Regions from separate parts of the Homo sapiens genome. Here region 1 is linked to region 2. Evidence: promoter capture Hi-C in 16 types of primary human blood cells and fetal thymus (Javierre and others, 2016). All regions are on one chromosome and are shown on one strand. The core of a region is centred on a gene start or on the middle of the fragment in contact, and the rest is flanking DNA. Distances in the headings are between cores, read along the strand shown.

Region 1 (3,949 bases), core at 77-2,576, 140 kb before region 2:
CTGAGCCCAGGAGTTGGAGGCTGCAGTGAGCAGTGATCGCACCACTGCATTCCAGCCTGGGTGACAGAGTGAGACCCTGACTCTAAAAATATAAATAAATAAATAAATAAATAAGTAATAAAAATATATAAAAAGGGCCAGGCGCGGTGGCTCATGACTGTAATCCCAGCACTTTGGGAGGCCAAGGCGGACAGATCACGAGGTCTGGAGATTGAGACCATCTTGACCAACATGGTGAAACCCCATCTCTACTAAAATACAATAAATAAATAAATAAATAAATAAATAAATAAATAAAAAGTAAAATAAAAATCTGCTCTTAACACACCTCCCCAAAATAACCAGACAGGCAGATGTGGTCAAACATACCTGAGGGTGAGTCCTGGAGCTCCCTGTGTCAACTCAAGCAAGCCACTTAGCAATTCTGGGCCTCAGTTTCCCCATCTGGAAAAGGGAGGTCCTCAGGGTGTTGCCATCAAAAGATGGTTGTAATGTTTCAATATAGTTCCGCATATTACACATTCAGCACAGACCCTGATTCAGGCACACACAAAAAGAACAAATATGACCAAAACAAGAATAACATAATTGTTATTAGTTTCATCGTGGTGATGGCCTCTTTCAGGCCACAATTCTCCTCTCCCACATTTACCCCCATGAGTGACCTCAGTCCCTGTTGACTCCCCAAAGCCTAGGAGAGTTTATGTCCAGCTCCATCCCCCCAATCCAGGGCCTGAGCCTCCTGAGGGCGCCAGTATGGAAGTGGAGGGGCTGTCACTTCCACCCATGTTGCTGGTTTCCTCATCTGGAAAATGGGCATGTAACAGTGTCTACCTCAAAAGGCTGCTGGGAGGATTTAACGCGAGGAGGCAGAGAAAGTGCCTGGTATACAGTAAGCGCTTAATTAGCCTTTGCCATTAATACCTATTCATGTTATAGATGAGATCCCGGGGATGGGGCTTTCGCGGAGCCTACTTCCTCCTTCCTCCTTTCTCGTCCCCACTGGACCCAGACCCAGCTTTGAAGACAGGGTCGGAGTGAAGTTTGCAACTGGGAAGGCTGCACGCCCCCATGTCCTCCCCCCAAAACCTCTAAACCCGGCCGGCAACGGCGGGAACTGGGATGTGCACCCACCGGGCATCGGAGCAGTCCCGAGGCACCAGGTGCTCCCATCCAAGTGCAGCCTGTCAAGCGCAGCCAGTCCCCGCGGCTTCTTCCTGAGGACCTCCGGCCGCGCTCCTTCCGCGCCCGCGTCCAGACTCACCCTTCCGGGGGAACACAAGCTCGAACCCGGACCCCTCCCCGCTCCCGCGGGTAGCTACTGCTTGTCCCCCGCCGAGACGCCTCCTCCCATTGGCCGCCTGAAACGCACACGCCCATTGGCAGCTGCTCTGTTCTCCCTGCTCGTCACCATTGGATTTTTTTTTTTTTGCCATGGTGGCGGCACTCTCATTGGTCCTGGGGCTCATTCGTCACTCAGCCGCGATTGGCTGAGTCGGCACCCAGATGCGCTGTCGCTTCTGCTATTGGCTGGCACTCGGTGGACGGAGACGGGGGAGGGGCTTGCGAGAGGCGGGAGGGAGAGCGAAGTGTGTGGGCAACGCGGCCGGATCCTGGAGTTCCCCTCCGTGCTGTGGAATTGGGTCAGGCGTGTACGGTCCTGACCCTAGGACACAGCTGCATGTCCTCACCTCGGTGTTCAAAGCTGCACCGGCCACCATTCAACCCTCCGACGCCCTGCCCTTTGGCTTCCCCGTTCCATCCGGTCCTGTCTCCTTTCCCTCGTTTCTACCTGGCCGACTCCATCCTGCTGACTAGAATTCCCCCTCCTTCACTCCTGGGAGGCATTCCTCGCCCACCTGCCCCAGTCCTCTTCCTGATCACCTGCAGCCCTGTCCTCTGAAGCTCCCTAGCGGTCAGGGTAGCAGCTTGGACATCCCGCCAGACGTGAATTCAAATCCCCACTCCGCAAGTCGTGCCCATTTGCTGAGAAGCCTACAGCCAGAGCGTTTCACATACATTATCTCATTTGATCCTAGCAGCAATTCCCTGTATGGCGGCTCTTATTATCCCCATTTCACAGAGGAAGAAACTCAGGCATGAAGAGGTAACAAAGACCGTCCTCTGACCCTTCTTCTGTGCCACACCATAACCACTCCTCGACTTTGTCTTTCACCTGCCCAGCCAAGTCTTAGCAAAGAAGCCTATTAAGTCATCCGCTCATCCTTGATGTCTGATCAACTTCCTCATCTTCCACTTTTTTTTTTTTTTTTTTTTAAGATGGAGTTTCGCTCTTGTCGCCCAGGCTGGAGTGCAATGCTGCGATCTCGGCTCACTGCAACCTCAGACTCCCGGATTCAAGCGATTCTCCTGCCTCAGCCTCCTGGGTAGCTGGGACAACAGGCGCCCGCCACCACGCCCGGCTAATTTTTGTATTTTTAGTAGAGATGGGATTTCACCATCTTGGCCAGGCTGGTCTCGAACTCCTGACCTCGTGATCCACCCTCCCAAAGCGCTGGGATTACAGGCGTGAGCCACCGCACCCGGCCCTTTTGTTGTTAATTTTTAAATTTTGTGGCTAATTTTTAAATTTTTGTAGAGATGGGGTCTGGCTATGTTGCCCAGGCTGGTCTTGAACTTCTGGCCTCAAGCAATCATCCTGCCTTGGCTTTCCAAAGTGCTGGGATTACAGATGTGAGCTAAGACACCCAGCTCCATGGAGTTGGTCTTAACTGCCATGGCCAAGGGACATGTGGCTGCTTCTCTCTGAGTCAGAAAATATGGGTAAAAAGCCTCCTCACAGGGCAGCTGTGGACATTCAGTATGAAAATGCTGAAAGAGATCGGGAATGGTCTCTTTCACACCTGTAATCCCAGCACTTTGGGAGGTGGAGGCGGGCGGATCACCTGAGGTCAGGAGTTCAAGACCAGACTGGCCAACATGGTGAAACCCTGTCTCTACTAAAAATGCAAAAATTAGCTGGGCATGGTGGTGGGCACCTGTAATCCCAGCTATTCAGGAGGCTGAGGCAGGAGAATCGCTTGAACTTGGGAGGCAGAAGTTGCAGTGAGCCGAGATCACACCATTGCCCTTCAGCCTGGGCAACAAGAGCTAAACTCTGTCTCAAAAAAAAAAAAAGAAAAAGAAAAAGAAAGAAAATGCTGATAGAGGCCGGGCACAGTGGCTCACGCCTGTAATCCCAGCACTTTGGGAGGCCGAGGTGGGCGGATCATGAGGTCAGGAAATCGAGACCATCCTGGCTAAGGCGGTGAAACCCCGTCTCTACTAAAAATACAAACAATTAGCTGGGCGTAGTGGCAGCCTGAGGCAGGAGAATGGCGTGAACCGGGGAGGCGGAGCTTGCAGTGAGCCGAGATTGCGCCACTGCACTCCAGCCTGGGCGCCAGAGTGAGACTCTGTCTCAAAAATAAAATAAAATAAAATAAAATAAAATGCTGATAGAGACTTGTCCTGGCTGGATGCAGTGGCTCATCCCTATAAACCTAGCACTTCAGGGAGCTAAAGAAGGAGTACTGTCTGGGCCCAGTTCAAGACCAACCTGGGCAATATAGCAAGACCCCATCTCTACCCAAAATAAAAAAAATTAGTCTAAGGCTGAAGTATGAGAATCGCTTGAGCCCAGGAGGTGGAGGTTGCAGTGGGCTGAGATCCCACCACTGCACTCCAGCTTGGGCTACAGAGTGAGACTCCATCTCGGGGGGAAAAAAAATTAGTTAGTCCCAGCTACTCCGAAGGCTGAGGTGGGAGGATTGCTTGAGCCCAGGAGGTTGAGGCTACAGTGAGCCGTGATCACACCACTGCACTCCAGCCTGGGCAACTTGACCTCCTGGGCTCTGCTGTATTTTCTTCAGAGTCCTTATTGCAACCTGACATTTCATGGGAAGTTTCTTTCTTTTTTTTTTTTTTTAAAGAGACAGAGTCTTGCTCT
Region 2 (4,210 bases), core at 1,325-3,824:
ACACCGCCAGGCACACCACGGCGTCGGCGCGCAGGCCGGCACCCGGCTGGTAGCGCGCACCGCGGAGCTTGCCGGTGTAGTTGTAATGCAGGACGATGACCTCGCTCACCGGCGCCGGCCGCAGCAGCCCCGACTCCATGGGCCGCGCGCCCCAAGGCTGTTGGAGAGGCAAGATACGGTGTCAGGCCGCGGTCCCCGTAAGCACGCTCGCAGCAGCCGGCTAAGTCGTGGGAAAGGGGCCCTACCCACTGACCATCACCCCCTATACATGGTGTCCAAGGGGGAGTTCAGGATGGAGGGATAGAGTCCGTGGAGACAGACATACACACAAATAATATCACGAGGGAACAAGGTGACATAGTCCCAAAAAAAGGGACATTAATAACACATGAATGGCTGGGCGCGGTGGTTCACACATGGCTGGGCGCGGTGGCTCAGGCCTGTAATCCCCGCCTGTAATCCCCCCAGGCTCAGGCCTGAGGCAGTGGCTCAGGCCTGGGAGGCCAAGGGGGGCAGATCACGAGGTCAGGAGATCGAGACCATCCTGGCTAACACGGTGAACCCCTCCGTCTCTGCTAAAAACACAAAAAATTAGCCAGGCATGGTGGCACGTGCCTGTAGTCCCAGCTACTCCAGAGGCTGAGGCAGAAGAATCATTTGAACCCAGGAGGCGGAGGTTGCAGTGAGCCGAGATCGCATCACTGCACTCCAACCTAGGTGGCAGAGCGAGACTCTGTCTCAAAACACCCCCCCTCCCCACCAAACACACACACGGCTGGGTGTGGTGGCTCACTCCTGTAATTCCAGCACTTTGGGAGGCTGAGGCGGGAGGATTGTTTGAGGCCCAGGAGTTCGAGATTAGCCTGGACAACATAGGAGAACCCCGTTTCTACAAAAATTAGCCGGGACGTGTTGGTGTATGCCTATAGTCCAAGCTACTCAGTGGAGTCCCAGCTGAGGTGAGAGGATCACTTGAGCCCGCGGGGTCAAGGCTGCAGTCAGTGAGCATTGATTGTGCCACTGTACTCCAGCCAGGACAACAGAGCAAGACTTTGTCTCAAACACACACACACAAACACACAAGCAGGGAGTTCCAGAGACGTAACAGTAAACACACAGAACGCACACAAACGCAACACACACAGAAAGAGACACACAAATACAGCGACACACTACAAGGGCAAAACACACAGTCACACACTATCAGGGAAACTAAAAAATACATCATACAGGAACAGAGTGACGCAGGCAGAAAAACACAGCGACCAAAATTCAGTCACACGAATACAGGGTCTCCCACCCAGTGGCACAGGCCACAATTTCACAACCTCCACTCACACTAGCCTGGGGCCCAGTGCACCACACTCCACACTCTTGTCTCACTGCATACAAAGCTTTTTCCTGCCAAAACCCCCTCATCCACCCAAAACCCCATGAGAAAGTTGCTCCTTGGCCAGGCACAGTGGCTTTCGCCTGTAATCCCAGCACTTTGGGAGGCCGAGGTGGGAGTATCACTTGAGCCCAGGAGTTCGACACCAGCTTGGGCAACATACTAAGACTTCATCTCTACAAAAAAATTTAAAAATTAGCCAGGTGTGGTGTTATGCCCCTATAGTCCCAGCTACTCAAGAGACTGAGGCGGGAGGATCACTTGAGCCTGGGAGGCCGAGGCTGCAGTGAGCCATGATCGCACCCCTGCTCTCCAGCCTGGGTGACAAGAGAGAAACTCCGTCTCAAAAAAAAAAAAAAAAAAAAAAGTTGATCCTATTCACTCATTTTACTAAGGCAGAGCCTGAGGACAGGAGAGAGAATCCACAAGAGGCAAACAGACTCTTACAGAGGGGCACACATGTCATTAAACTGTAATAACACTCCTCACCTGCCTCTGTGACCTTATTAATCCCCACTTCCTTTAGTCCTAATTTACAGATGAGAAAACTGAAGCTCAAAAGAAATGCTTCGTATCGAAGCAGGCGCAAAGGTTTCCATGCTCCCACACAAACATCCATGCACAAATAGTCCCCATGCAAGTCCAGATGAGAAAGCCAAGGCCTGGGGAGGGGAATGGATCTCTTTTGCACAAGGCAGGGATGCGGACATCCCAGAGAGCTTCAGTCACACACAGAGAATCAAGGCAGGCAAACATAGACAGGAAGTCGCTGGCTCACCCATGCTGGAGGTGGGGAGCCCAAATACAGGGAGACAGGGTTACACATGCTCTGAGGGGGAGGCCAACCCCATCCGCCCAGCTTGCCCGGCAGCAGGACTGAAGTATGGAAACTTGCAGTGGCCCGGCCAGGAGGGGGTGGCCAGGGGATTCCAGCCACCTTCACCCCGTATCCCAGGTCCTGCACCCAGCTGGGGAGCCCCCAGCTTCCCCCTCCCCAGAGGCCTCCAGGAAAAGTTCGGAGAACTCCCTGCAAGGAGTGGTGCGCCTTTTTAGACCGGGAAAGTGGCCGCCAGGGCGACCCCCTCCGGGTCAGGCCCAGCCCAGCGCCCCCAAAGGTCCAGTGCAGTCCACTCACTCTGCGCCCTGGTCGTGCGCCACCCGCAGTCGCGCTGCCTTGAACCGAGTGAGCGGACGCCGCTCCGGGGGCGGGGCTGGAGCTGGCAGGCGAGGGGGCGGGCCAGCGACGCAAAGGGCCGGCGGTCGCCAGCAGTTGCCCCCTCCCCTTGGGTCCCGGGCACTCAGCCCATGGCTGCCAGCCTGTGCCACTCGCCGCGGCACCGGAGCGCGCCCCGGCGGCGACTGGCACAGGCGAGCCCTCAGCTGCCCCCTCCGGGCCTGGGCTGTCCTCCCAGGGACGCTCCATCGCGGTGGGAGGACTCGGAGAGGCGGGAAAGGGAGGGTTCTGCAGCAGGGCGGTCGCAGCCTGAGCCTCTTCTCCCCAGCGGAGGGGTCTCCTCTGTCCTGGGTGTCCGGGCACTGCGCCCTCCCATTGCCCACCCACCTGTGAACTGAGCTTCCTGGGCTGCACCCCAAGGACGCCCCGTCGATGATTCGGAGGGGTCTTCAGTGGGTTGCTTAGCAGGAGTCTTCAGTGGGGGCCACCTTAGCCTGAGTCCTCTCCCACCAGCAGATAGGTTCCCGCTGCTCCCGGGCACAGGCCCCTCCCAATTTCCCGCTCCCGCCCCCGGCTCAGGGCGAGTGGGGGTGGGGCGGGCCCGGGCAGGATTGTGATGGGAACTTGCCGCTCCTCAGATAAGGAGGGTCTCTCCTGTCCCACCCCCTGGATTCCGTGTTCCCCCGACCGATTCTCTCCCACCCTTATCGCTGACGACAAAGTGATTTACTCATTAATGGTGTTTCTGGGCTGTGTCCTTAGCAGACAGTAAACCCCAGCAATGTAAGAATTTCTTTTTTTTTTTTTTTTTTGAGACAAGATCTTGCTCTGTGGCCCAGAGTGGAGTGCAGTGGCAACATCATAAGTCACTGCAGTCTCGACCTCCGCGGCTCAAGCCATCCTCCCATCTCAGCCGGCTGAACGTAGCTGCTGGGACTCCAGTCGCTTGCAACCATGCCCAGATAATGAATGAGTGTCTCCCTCACTTCCTCTGTATCTCTCTCAGGAGGATCTCAGAGTCTCTCGCCTGCGTGTCTCTTTGTCTCTGCGTGTCTCTTTGCCTCTGCGTGTCTCTTTGTTGCTGTCTGTGATGCTCTCCCACGCCTCTCCCAGGCCACTGCTCCTCCAACGACCAGTCCCGCTGGCCCCGAAACGCCCCCACCCCGACTTCCCAGGAACTTCCAGACGGTCCCAGCTCTTCCACCCTCAGATTCAGGAAGGGAGGCTGGGTCCCGCTGCTGCGACCTTCTCCAGGACCGTGCCCTTTGCCCCTGATGCTTCAGGCCCTGCTGGCCGCGGGTGGGGTGAGGGCGCCCCAGGAGAGATGAGCCAGAGGCTGAGAATAAGTGTGGATCCGGGATACCCTCGTGGGAGGAAACTCAGGGGGCACTCAGGCCGGGTCAGGCCCCCATGTAGCCCCTTGGGGATCCCAGCCCTCCTGCCCCCGCTGTTCCCTCGGTGGGCAGAACCTTTCCTGCCTGCTCTGCTCAAAGACACAGCCAATGGGACCCGCAGGGTGGGACGGTGTTAACCCTTCAGTGCCAGGTTCCCCAGTCCTGTGGACCAAGCCAACTCCAATGGTGCCCACTGGGATGACCCCTGAAGATCTCCCAGCATGGCTGTGGCTGGCACCCAGTAGGTGCTCA

What was found. Contacts are between HindIII fragments. The CHiCAGO score rates a contact against its expected background, and 5 or more counts as called.
Region 1: a contact is called between the fragment with the promoter of TYK2 here and the fragment with the promoter of S1PR5 in region 2, in 5 of 17 cell types (non-activated CD4 T cells, naive CD8 T cells, fetal thymus and 2 more). The highest score is 8.5, in non-activated CD4 T cells.

What each region holds. Positions count from the first base shown.
Region 1 is chr19:10,379,246-10,383,194 of GRCh38, forward strand. It overlaps TYK2 (tyrosine kinase 2), which reads right to left and starts at 1,327. Exons shown (of 25, transcript NM_003331.5): 1 at 1,135-1,327; 2 at 370-534. RefSeq lists enhancers at 1,225-1,384, 1,293-1,956. The HindIII fragment of the contact is 15,548 bases long and covers 1-3,949 here.
Region 2 is chr19:10,514,873-10,519,082 of GRCh38, forward strand. S1PR5 (sphingosine-1-phosphate receptor 5) reads right to left here and starts at 2,575. Exons shown (of 2, transcript NM_030760.5): 1 at 2,526-2,575; 2 at 1-157. The coding sequence starts at 139. RefSeq lists enhancers at 1-458, 459-1,052, 3,920-4,210. The HindIII fragment of the contact is 9,669 bases long and covers 1,393-4,210 here.